Linked DNA regions of Homo sapiens: all the other regions are linked to region 2. The links are contacts of gene promoters, found by promoter capture Hi-C in blood cells and fetal thymus (Javierre and others, 2016). All regions are on one chromosome and are shown on one strand. The core of a region is centred on a gene start or on the middle of the fragment in contact, and the rest is flanking DNA. Distances in the headings are between cores, read along the strand shown. Region 1 overlaps TEP1 (telomerase associated protein 1). Region 2 holds the start of RNASE10 (ribonuclease A family member 10 (inactive)). Region 3 overlaps TEP1 (telomerase associated protein 1).

Evidence for each region. The method cuts DNA at HindIII sites, captures the fragments that hold promoters and counts their contacts. A CHiCAGO score of 5 or more calls a contact.
Region 1: a fragment that was not itself captured here is called in contact with the fragment with the promoter of RNASE10 in region 2 in 4 of 17 cell types (M0 macrophages, total B cells, naive B cells and 1 more); the score reaches 5.9 in M0 macrophages.
Region 3: a contact is called between a fragment that was not itself captured here and the fragment with the promoter of RNASE10 in region 2, in 1 of 17 cell types (naive B cells). The highest score is 5.4, in naive B cells.

The regions. Positions count from the first base shown.
Region 1 is chr14:20,396,113-20,400,490 of GRCh38, forward strand. It overlaps TEP1 (telomerase associated protein 1), which reads right to left. Exons shown (of 55, transcript NM_007110.5): 10 at 509-618. Among named protein-coding and RNA genes, the nearest start is that of TEP1, 15 kb to the right of the region's middle. The HindIII fragment of the contact is 1,267 bases long and covers 1,481-2,747 here.
Region 2 is chr14:20,503,575-20,507,329 of GRCh38, forward strand. RNASE10 (ribonuclease A family member 10 (inactive)) reads left to right here and starts at 1,963. Exons shown (of 2, transcript NM_001386206.3): 1 at 1,963-2,445. The HindIII fragment of the contact is 24,242 bases long and covers 1-3,755 here.
Region 3 is chr14:20,380,132-20,383,880 of GRCh38, forward strand. It overlaps TEP1 (telomerase associated protein 1), which reads right to left. Exons shown (of 55, transcript NM_007110.5): 25 at 3,612-3,749; 26 at 3,357-3,513; 27 at 3,043-3,222; 28 at 2,492-2,584; 29 at 2,093-2,225; 30 at 1,782-1,932; 31 at 1,422-1,555; 32 at 1,182-1,270; 33 at 800-914; 34 at 104-344. Among named protein-coding and RNA genes, the nearest start is that of TEP1, 31 kb to the right of the region's middle. The HindIII fragment of the contact is 2,872 bases long and covers 492-3,363 here.

The DNA.
Region 1 (4,378 bases), core at 864-3,363, 110 kb before region 2:
TTAGGATGTGAGAAAAGGTAACAAAAGAAGAGAAAGTAACAGAAGGAGCCCCGTTTCTTTTAAGACTCCCTCTGGGCAGGGTGTGGTAGCTCACGCCTGTAATCCCAGCACTTTGGGAGCCTTAGGCAGGTGGACTGCCTGGGCTCAAGAGTTTGAGACCAGCCTTGCCAACATCGCAAAACCCCATCTCTATAAATAAAAAACAAAGACTCCTTCTGAAATCAGTTACATCACACAAGTGTCTCTTCCTGGTAAGTCACTGAGCTCAGAAAATTAAAATGAAAGTTCTTATACTCTACTGTAACTTCTCAAAGGATTTACTGAACCCCAAAACTTATCTCCCTCAACCTAGCTGTATTCCCAGATCTACTTACAGCCCACATGGAAACAGCTTGAGGGCCGTACCTGCCTCTGCCCCCTGAAAAAGCCTGGCCTCTAAAGCAGCAGTGGCCTCTCCACGTGCACATCTAGTTGCTGGGCCCCATGGCTACCAGCCCCTCACACATACCGCATGCTGGAGTCTCTGGAGAATGAGCTCATGGTGGCGGGAACTGATTCCAACCCGCAGCAGGTTGCACAGGTTCCGAAGCATGGCCATGAAGGGAAGCTTCCCATTTTCTGTGGAATGTGGGGCATAGAGTGAGAAAAACAAATGAGAAGGCCAGGCACAGTGGCATGCACCTATAATCTCAGCTACCAAGGAGGCTGAGACAGAAGGATCACTTGAGCCCAGAACCCAGGAATTAGAGTCCAGCCTGGGCAACATAGCAAGACTGTCTCAAAAAAAAAAAGCAAATGAGGGATGATTAGAGAGAGGTCAGAGACCAGAGCAAGAAGTTCAGAAACCAGGCATGTGGAAAGTCCAAGATAGAGGAAGTGAGGAATTCACATACAATCTACCCTACTCAAAATGTTTTAAAGGCTTGGAAAGATTAAAAACAGGGTTGGCCCAAAGTTTGGAACAAAATTTATGCAACACTGTTTATGGGATGGCTGTTATGTTACCACTTAATCTGTTGGCTCTAGCCCTAAGATTGGGTTCAACTGGCAAAATGTATTATCTAGTCTAGAGCAAAGGTTTCTAAACTTTTTAGATGGCCAAAAGAGAAATTTCGTAGTGTAAGTTGATTTATGAAGTATATACTAACATAATGTAGCACATTCATTAGTTAATATTTCAAGGCACAATATCCATTTAAAAGAAGGTTCACCATTTATGAAACCCCGTCTCTACAAAAATACAAAAATTAGCCAGGCGTGGTGTCTGGTGCCTCTAATCCCAGCCACTCGAAAGGCTGAGTCAGGAGAATCGCTTGAAACCAAAATGCGAAGGTTGCAGTGAACCGAGATCACGCCACTGCACTGCAGCCTGGGTGACAAAGCAAGACTCTGTCTCCAAAAAAAAAATTAAAAAAAAGTTCACCATTTATAATGACGAATGTATGTAAATCCATATTTGAAATAGTCTTCATAATTTGTAAGCTTCTCACCCAATTTCTTCTATTTGATTAGTCATTACTTTTTTTGCTTAAATATAGGTGAAAAAGATTTGCACTGGAGATAGAATTTCACCACTGACCTCTGTCACTTCCTTATTGTTCCCTTGTACCTGTGTTATTAATATTATCTTCAAGCCATAGTTTCTTTTCTTTTTTTTTTGAGACGGAGTCTCACTCTGTCACCCAGGCTAGAGTGTGGTGGTGCAATCTCAGCTCACTGCAACCTCTGATTCCTGGATTCAAGCAATTCTCCTGCCTCAGCCTCCGAGTAGCTGGGATTACAAGTGCTCACCACCATGCCTGGCTAATTTTTGTATTTTTAGTAGAGACGGGGTTTCACCATGTTGGCCAGGCTGGTCTCAAACTCCCGATCTACAGTGATCTGCCTGCCTCGGCCTCCCAAATTGCTGGGATTACAGGCGTGAGCCACCATGCCCAGCCCATAGTTTCTTAATAATAATATTTTTAAGGTTTATATCAATTTTAGGCCGGGTGCAGTGGCTCACGCCTGTAATCCCAGCACTTTGGAAGGCCGACTCAGGCGGATCATGAGGTCAGGAGATCAAGACCATCCTCGCTAACACGGTGAAACCCCATCTCTACTAAAAATACAAAAATTAGCCGGGCGTGGTGGTGGTCGCCTGTAATCTCAGCTAATCAGGAGGCTGAAGCAGGAGAATCACTTGAACCTGGGAGGCGGAGGTTGAAGTGAGCCGAGGTCGCGCCATTGCACTCCAGCCTGGGCATCAAAGTGAGACTCCGCCCAAAAAAAAAAAAAAAAGGTTTATATCAATTTTAGACAGTTAATTTGGTTAATACTGAATAATATAATTCCAAATCCATCTACAATTGAAAGATAAATTGCTATAAGTCAAATTATATAGAAACCAAAATTAAAAAAAAAAAAGAGTGAAGGGGTGACATTAATGCCCTCAGATTGTGGATGCTCAGAAAACCTCAACTATTACACGTAACACATAACACTGTATCATATGGATTCAGTGACTATGTGGGTTCAATCTGCATGGTAAGTACTGGGAAAATTCTTTTCTTTTAGATAAAAGTAAACATAAATAGGAGGTGTGATTTTCTTTTCCTGGACAGAGGTGCATTCAAACCACTTTAGAGGCCAGGCCGGTCAGTCCGTCACCATGCCTTGTGCACCAGCCCACACCATCAGCAGCTTCATCAGGTAAATGCTGCTCCCTTTGTAAAGGGGATGTAAGTCTTATTTGAATTATAGCTGGAAGCTTTCAGCCCTCTGGAAGTCTTGGGATTCTCCAGTCATCATTCTTTTTTTTTTTATTTTTGAGATGGAGTCTGTCTCTGTCACTCAGTGGCACAATCTTGGCTCGCTGCAACCTCCACTTTCCAGGCTCAAGCAATCCTCCTGCCTCAACCTCCCAAGCAGCTGGGACCACAGACATCAACCACCATGCCCAGCTAATTTTTCTATTTTTGGTTAGAGACGGGGTTTCACCATGTTGCTCAGGCTGGTCTCAAACTCCTGAGCTCAAGTGATTTGCCCGCCCCAGCCTCCCAAAGTGCTGGGATTACAGGCGTGAGCCATGGTGCCTGGCCTCCAGTCATAATTCTGATTCACAAACTGTATGGAACAATTAGGTTGTATATGTACTATAAATGAACTATTGCATCCATTGTCGACTCAAGTTTTTTCCACTGTTACTATGTATAAAAGGTTTTCTAGATCATTTTCGGTAAGAAATTAAGTCCAATATCATACTGGTGATATTAGAAAATAAACTGGACATTTATCCTTAAGATTGCAAAATTCACTAATTTCATTCCAAAAAAATGTTAATGAGTTATTAATGAGATCTGTGGTCTTCAAAAAGGGTTCTGTATATCCAATTACATTTTATCTTATATTTTATACTTATATCTTTTTTTATATTTCCTTTTATTTATTTATATTTATTTTTGGCTGGGCACAGTGGCTTACATCTGTAATCCCAGCAATTGGAGACCAGCCTTGGCAACAAAGTGAGGCCCTGTTTCTTAAAAAAAAAAAAAAAAAAAAAAAAAGTACATATACATATATTCTGGTGTATCCTAAAAATTGTTTTTGTAGTATATGATTAAAAAAAAGAAACACTAGCCACCACGGGATTAGACTATGGGCATTTGCCTCAACCAGGATAAATGACATTAAAAGAATAAATTTACATGTCCTTACATTTTCAGGGACAGTGGTTCTCAACCAGAGGGAGGAAGTGGAGATGGGTGCATATAGAATTATCTTCATATGGCTGGGCGTGGTGGCTCACACCTATAATCCCAGCACTTTGGGAGGCCGAGGCGAGTGGATTACTGGAGGTCAGGAGTTCAAGACCAGCCAATATGGTGAAACGCCGTCTCTACTAAAAATACAAAATTAGCTGGGCATGGTGGCATGCGCCTGTAATCCCAGCTACTCGGGAGACTGAGGCAGGAGGCAGAAGTTGCAGTGAGCCAAGATTGCGCCATTGCATTCCGGCCTGGGCAAAAAGAGCAAAACTCCGTCTCAAAAAAAAAAAAAAAAAAAAAAAAAGAATTATCTACATATACCGGCTTCTATCCAGGCCCCTTTATTCTACTCCACCCCAAGTGGTTTCAACCATCAGGGAAGAAGAGGCTGTCAACTGGGGGCAGGTGTGTGTGTGTATGTGTGTTTGTGTGTGGGTGCGTGTGTGTGTGTGTGCAGTGGCTCATGCCTATAATTCCAGCACTTTGGGAGGCCAAGGTAGGAGAAATGCTTGAGGCCATGAGTTTGAGACCAGCCTGGGCAACATTACAAAGACCTTGTCTCTAAAATTTAAAAAGAAAAGTAATAATTTTATAAAGTAAAAAACGAAAGAAAGAGCCTGCTATAGGTAAAA
Region 2 (3,755 bases), core at 713-3,212:
TGTAACCCTCCTGGTTTTATTCACCCAGAGTATAGGGACTGATAATGATAATGCTGCTTTGGATAGTCTCCTATCTAGGGCTAAATGATCAGATTTGCAAAATCCAGATATTCTTATGGGAATGTGGTTATTGGCTAGGGGAATGGAAAGAGGGAGTAGAGAGTGGAAAACTGGATAAAGTTATAGGTAAAGATATGTGAAAACTCATGATTGTCTCAAATACTCTAAATCTTGTCATAATACACTTGTAAAGTAATAATCATGTTGGAGAGATGGCCAAATAAAGGCCAAAGATCTTGACACTGCAGAAATTATAGGAGAGGATTAAAGGAAGTACATGTGGCAGATATAAGAAAAGACTAAACTTGAGATTCATGCACAAGGTCAGGCTGCATAAACCACAGGATAGCGGGTGTAACTCAGGAGCAGAACAATTGATCCATGAAACAAAACTGTCTGCAGTTTCCCAGGCTGGAGAGATTTCCCGTCTTGGATGTCTGGATCTGTCTCAGTGCCCAGATAGCCTCACTTCAAAGTGTTTGTGGGAACAGAAAGAATTGGCTGAGTGTGTTTGTTCAGTGCTAGGCGGAGGAAGTGAAACGGGGAGTGGGTTTAGGAAGTAAGTGTGTGTTTAAGAGCACGTGGACCACCAGAAGATAACCATTTTTCTTCAGACTAGCAGCCAGGGCACTGCTCACGAAGAAGGAAACCCTGGGAGGGAAGAACTTGGGGAACGAGAGGACACAAGAATCTCTGCAGCTGCTTATGCATGTACGTAAGTCACAGAGGTGTTGGGTGCCTCAAGGAACAACATGGAAGTCCTCTCTCTTTTTTAAAATAAATAATTTTTTAATAAATTTTCGAGCACTTTGGGAGGCCGAGGCGGGCGGGTCACGAGGTCGGGAGATCGAGACCATTCTGGCTAACACGGTGAAACCCCGTCTCTACTAAAAAATACAAAAAATTAGCCGGGCGCGGTGGCGGGCGCCTGTAGTCCCAGCTACTTGGGAGGCTGAGGCAGGAGAATGGCGTGAACCTGGGAGGCGGAGCTTGCAGTGAGCCGAGATCGCGCCACCGCACTCCAGCCTGGGCGACAGAGAGAGACTCCGTCTCAAAAAAAAAAAAAAAAAAAGGAATCTGTCATTACAACCTTCTCTCACAAAGAACTCCAGGCGCAGACAGCATCACCACAGCATTCTACCAACCATTTACAGGGAAAGTAATGCACGTCCACAAAACTCTTCCAGAAAGACAAGGGAGCACTCACCAGCTCCTGAGGCCAACGTAGCCTCAGTCCCTAACCCAGCAAGGACAGCAGCGGAGAGGAGCTCACAGGCCAGCCCCCGCCACACGTACACACCACTGCGAGGCTCCAAAGCTCAAGCAGCGTGTATCCAGCGAATACAACAAGAATAATGAAAAAGCGTTATCTGATCAATTGCTAGAGGAGCAGAAGTAACTCTGGCAAACCTCACTGAATGTGAATCCTGAAAGTGCCTTGATCTGCGGTTCTACAAGTTATGGTGCTGGAGGTCTCAGCCAATGCTGTAGGGTAGGACAAAGAAAGAGCTCCAGTGCCAGACAAGAAAAAGTAAAACTCTGATTGATTCACCCATGAAACAGTGTCTGTGTTTAGAAACCCCAAAAGAATATATAGACAAATCATAAGGATGAAAAAGTGAGTTTGCTCCCTCTCCCTCTCCCTCTCCCTCTCCCTCTCCCTCTCCCTCTCCCTCTCCCTCTCCCTCTCCCTCCACGGTCTCCTTCCACGGTCTCCCTCTGATGCCGAGCCAAAGCTGGACGGTACTGCTGCCATCTCGGCTCACTGCAACCTCCCTGCCTGATTCTCCTGCCTCAGCCTGCCGAGGGCCTGCGATTGCAGGCGCGCGCCACCACGCCTGACTGGTTTTCGTACTTTTTTGGTGGAGACGGGGTTTCACTGTGTTGGCCGGGCTGGTCTCCAGCTCCTAACCGCGAGTGATCCGCCAGCCTTGGCCTCCCAAGGTGCCGGGATTGCAGACGGAGTCTGGTTCACTCAGTGCTCAATGGTGCCCAGGCTGGAGTGCAGTGGCGTGATCTCAGCTCGCTACAACCTCCATCTCCCAGCCGCCTGCCTTGGCCTCCCAAAGTGCCGAGATTGCAGCCTCTGCCTGGCCGCCACCCCGTCTGGGAAGTGAGGAGCGTCTCTGCCTGGCCGCCCATCGTCTGGGATACGAGGAGCCTCTCTGCCTGGCTGCCCAGTCTGGAAAGTGAGGAGCGTCTCTGCCCGGCCGCCATCCCATCTAGGAAGCGAGGAGCGCCTCTTCCCCGCCGCCATCCCATCTAGGAAGTGAGGAGCGTCTCTGCCCGGCCGCCCATCGTCTGAGATGTGGGGAGCACCTCTGCCCCGCCGCCCTGTCTGGGATGTGAGGAGCGCCTCTGCTGGGCCGCAACCCTGTCTGGGAGGTGAGGAGCGTCTCTGCCCGGCCGCCCCGTCTGAGAAGTGAGGAAACCCTCTGCCTGGCAACCGCCCCGTCTGAGAAGTGAGGAGCCCCTCCGTCCGGCAGCCACCCCGTCTGGGAAGTGAGGAGCGTCTCCGCCCGGCAGCCACCCCGTCCGGGAGGGAGGTGGGGGGGGGTCAGCCCCCCGCCCGGCCAGCCGCCCCGTCCGGGAGGTGAGGGGCTCCTCTGCCCGGCCGCCCCTACTGGGAAGTGAGGAGCCCATCTGCCCGGCCAGCCGCCCCGTCCGGGAGGGAGGTGGGGGGGGTCAGCCCCCCGCCCGGCCAGCCGCCCAGTCCGGGAGGTGAGGGGCGCCTCTGCCCGGCCGCCCCTACTGGGAAGTGAGGAGCCCCTCTGCCCGGCCAGCCGTCCCGTCCGGGAGGGGGGAGGGGGGGTCAGCCCCCTGCCCGGCCAGCCGCCCCGTCCGGGAGGGAGGTGGTGGGGGTCAGCCCCCCGCCCGGCCAGCCGCCCTATCCAGGAGGTGAGGGGCGCCTCTGCCCGGCCGCCCCTACTGGGAAGTGAGGAGCCCCTCTGCCCGGCCAGCCGCCCAGTCCGGGAGGGAGGTGGGGGGATCAGCCCCCCGCCTGGCCAGCCGCCCAGTCCAGGAGGGAGGTGGGGGGTCAGCCCCCCGCCCGGCCAGCCGCCCCGTCCGGGAGGGAGGTGGGGGGGTCAGCCCCCCGCCCGGCCAGCCGCCCCGTCCGGGAGGGAGGTGGGGGGGGTCAGCCCCCCGCCCGGCCAGCCGCCCCGTCCGGGAGGGAGGTGGGGGGATCAGCCCCCCGCCTGGCCAGCCGCCCCGTCCGGGAGGTGAGGGGCGCCTCTGCCCGGCCGCCCCTACTGGGAAGTGAGGAGCCCCTCTGCCTGGCCAGCCGCCCCGTCCGGGAGGGGGGAGGGGGGGTCAGCCCCCCGCCCGGCCAGCCGCCCCGTCCGGGAGGGAGGTGGTGGGGGTCAGCCCCCCGCCCGGCCAGCCGCCCTGTCCGGGAGGTGAGGGGCGCCTCTGCCCGGCCGCCCCTACTGGGAAGTGAGGAGCCCCTCTGCCCGGCCAGGACCCCGTCTGGGAGGTGTGCCCAGCGGCTCATTGGGGATGGGCCATGATGACAATGGCGGTTTTGTGGAATAGAAAGGCGGGAAGGGTGGGGAAAAAATTGAGAAATCGGATGGTTGCCGGGTCTGTGTGGATAGAAGTAGACATGGGAGACTTTTCATTTTGTTCTGTACTAAGAAAAATTCTTCTGCCTTGGGATCCTGTTGATCTGTGACCTTATCCCCAACCCTGTGCTC
Region 3 (3,749 bases), core at 678-3,177, 120 kb before region 2:
GGATCCCTCTCCAGTGTTTCTGGTCATCCTTATTCCTCAGTTTCAGAAAGAGCTGCAGCTTGCTCTCTGGTGGGCTTACTAGGGTCTGGGGTCAAGGTCTTACCTTTGCTGATTTTTCATGGTCCGGGGTTTATTAAGCCATCGTAGTGTGTGTTGGAGGTGCCATCTCCGGGAGAGCAGCGAGGCTTGGTGGCAAAGAGGTGAGTCCAGGGGCTGGTTGGCTGCCTGCTGGGGCAGGAGCCGGGGGTACTGGCTGAGGATTGAAGCCTGCTGCCTCAGGAAGGTGCGAAACACTGCAACGTCAGCCTCGGGGAGCTTTTGTTCCTCTTTGGGGACTGAAGAAGCTATAAAAGGGTGGCAGAATGTCACTGGGGAGCCAGCTGGACCCCATTAGCCCCAGCACCAAATAAAACCATATGGTGTGTCTACAATAGTAAGTCTCAAAGTGTGGCCCTCTGGCCCTATATCAGGAATATCTCTTAAAAGTACAAAGCTTTGAGCCCCACTCCAAACCTAGGAAACCAGAATATGGAGACCCAAGGATCTGCAATTTGAACAAGTTTCCTAGATAGTTTTATGCTAACTAAATAAAGTTGAAGAATCTCTGGTCCAAGAGATCAAGGTGAAAGGTCTCCTGAGAGTCACGTGCTCACCCTCTTGGCATTTTCAACTCGAAATGGAAATTTGAATCTTTTTTCCCTGACACCCACACCCCTGCCCCAACCCTGAGCAGGGCCCCCATAAGCACACCCAGGAGTCCCATATCTCAGAGAAGAACCCAGCCAGTGACTCATCTCACCATAGAGGGCATGGGCCTCCAAGAGCCGAGAGACCAGACCCAATTCCAAGTGTGCAGCCACCACATGGAGGTTGGTAAGGAACTTCGAAAGAAGTCCACGGTTCCCGCTCTGGAGCTGAGAAGGTCAGATTGAATTCATTAGGGATATGAAGGGGCTGGTGAGAAGGGACAGTTTAGTCTCAGAACCTGGATACAGAGATAGGATCTGAGCTGGGACAAAGGACTTGAAGAAGAAGGGCAGGAAAACTGAAAGGAAAGAGGTCAAGGGAGTTTGGGAGGGGTAATGGCGGCGGTGATGGTGGAGATGGTAACGGGGAGAGGGGTCTCAGAGCAACCAAAGCACTCACTTTGGGAAAGGTGTCTATGGGGTCTAGGAACTAACCAGGTGGTAAGGCAGGTCTCCCAGAGCCTCAGGAGGGCAACTTCGGAAGGTGCCTGAGGCATCAGCGTCACATGTCTTCCAGAGCTGAGCTGCATGAACAGATATTGAGAAAGGCTCAGCCCTGCATCATTCCCAAGGGCAGTAGGTGAGCTGGCCAGCAGATGGGAGCACAGTGGGTGGTCCTGGCCTCCAGGCCCAAGCCCCACACTCAGTGCCCAGGCTGACTTGGGCTGCAATCACCTGCAATGAGGATGTGTGCCGTGTCCTCTAGCCCTGGCCTCTTCCCATAGCAACGTTTAGCTGCTGTTCTCAGGGGCCCATCAGGGAGGCACAGCCGGGCACCAGGGCGCTCCAGAGGGCCCTCCCCTAGCAAACTGTCCTCGTGTGAGGAAGGGAGAGAGAAGAAGGAAGAGGCCTGTCAGTGAGCTTCCTGGCACACAGTGGGCTCCTATTCCCCCCTCAAATAGCGGAAACTGGAGCAGCTGGAGCAGTAGCTCATTCATGGTCTGGGAGCCAGTTGTTGAAGCTATACAGAGGGCCCCGGCTCAAAGAAGGGAAGGCACAGAGAGGTCAGCGGGAGCTCTGCTGGGGCACCTGTACCTGCGCAGACTCTGGACGAGGCAGGCAAACGGGCCCATGGGGTAGGGGTCTCCACTGTTACCAGCAGCCACTGCTTCTTCCCAGCTCTTAGTCCCCTTCGGTAGTGTCCGCCACACACTCAGCACTCCGTGCAGCTGGTCCACAGTCAAACCTGAAAACTCAAGCTCTCTGAGGCCCTCATCTAACCATACGGTGTCCCCGCCCCCACCACACCCAGTCTCTCCTTGAACTGCCTGCTGAGACCCCAAGGGAACCAATGTAATCCGAACCCTGGCCCTCAGCCTCCCAACCAACCCACCCCAAGCACTGACCACTCCGTGTGACTTCTAGGGCAGTCAAGGCCTGGGGAAGGACATCAGGCCCGTGCTCCTTCTCCAGTGTGCTCAGGATGTGCTGCAGCAGCAGGGGGACAGTGGCAGGCAGGGTCCGGAGTCTCTCAGACACCTAGGATGGCGGGAGGACAGCCTTGTTCAGTGCAGTGGGAGGAGAAGCAGCTTGGCTTGTGGGATAGGGAAGGGGCAGCAGGAGGACAGTGTGGAGGAATGAAAAAGTAAAGAACAACAGTAGGAGGGAAGTGAGGCGAGGTATGAGGCGAGGATAGGGAGTGGGTGATCACAAGACAGCAAAGGACGTGGGATAGGGATGAGACAAAGCAGCTGAAGAGAGAATGGGAAGTAGTGATTAGGACTTGGAAGGTGATGAGAACTGACCTGCTCATACAGCGTGAAGAGCCTCAGGTGATCGGTGACCAAGCGCAGGTAGAGCGGCCGGCCTGATTCCCGCTTCACCAGCAGCAGTCGCATCTGGCAAGACTCAGGACTCAGGGTGGGGTCCAGGAGGGCTGCCCGCAGCCAGCCCTCTGCCCCAGCACCAGCCCCTCTGCCAGGCAGCTCCTCCTCTGAGAGTCCCCAGCAGACGCCAGGTCCATGGCATCATCCCAGGACACAAACCATCCCTCTCCTACGCTGCTCTGCCCAGCCAGCCCTGCCAGAAAACCCCTGTGGCTCGGCCTACCCCACCAAAAACCACTTGACTCATCCCCTCACCCCGAGAGGCCCTGGAAAGGCCATTCACCGGGGGAAGAGGGCTGGGTGACATGATCAGGAATCACAATTTTCTTATTAACAACTTCCCATGGACAGAATTTCTGAGAAAACAAAGGAGCAGGTCTGTGCAAGGCAGCTAGCGGCCTCGGCACCCCAGGTCCTCATAGCTCCCAGATTCACCCCACACACCCACCGGCCCCGGCCTAGAACCCAACCTGGTTGTTAAATGGTGACTCCTCCAGCCGCTTCCCGTACAGGGCCAGCTCCTCTCTCACCAGCCGGGCCCGAGCAGAGGCCTCCAGAGGCCCCAAGGCCAGCACGTGGGCACCCTGGCTCTGCTCAAGGGTCTCCCCTAGGCCTGCATCACTAGACACACTCAGCACCAGGTGTACACACTGTGATATTTGGGCAAAGGGGCAGGAAGGTAGAAAGAAAAGGAGAACCACATTGGAGAGGCCTCTCTCCTCCGTGCCGTATCCCTCCTTCTCCCCAGCCTGCCTCCCGACACCCACCTCCTTCTCACACTCACCCGGGGAAGCTTCTTTGGGATCCAGTCTGAAATCAGCTGCCCATTCTGGTCCACTAACCTATCAGCCCCATCGATGATCAGGACCTGGGTCTGGCCAGGATGCAGGGACTCAGCAGACTTGGGCAGCAGCCTCTGCTGCAGCTCCCACACCAGGCTTCTGTACATGGAGAGGAAGTCAGGGTCAGTGGGAGAGAAAAAAAAAGCAGGGGTGGTACGTGGGCATCAACAAGGCTGGGCTCATTGGGGGATACCCACCGGTAGGTGCTGGGGAGGGCACCTGGCTCTTTTAGTTGGCCACGCAGATAGGTACAGAGGCGTCTGAGCAGAGTGAGGGCAAGACCCTGGTCAGGACGAGCCCCAGAAAAGTGGAAGAAGACTAATGATGCCACCTTG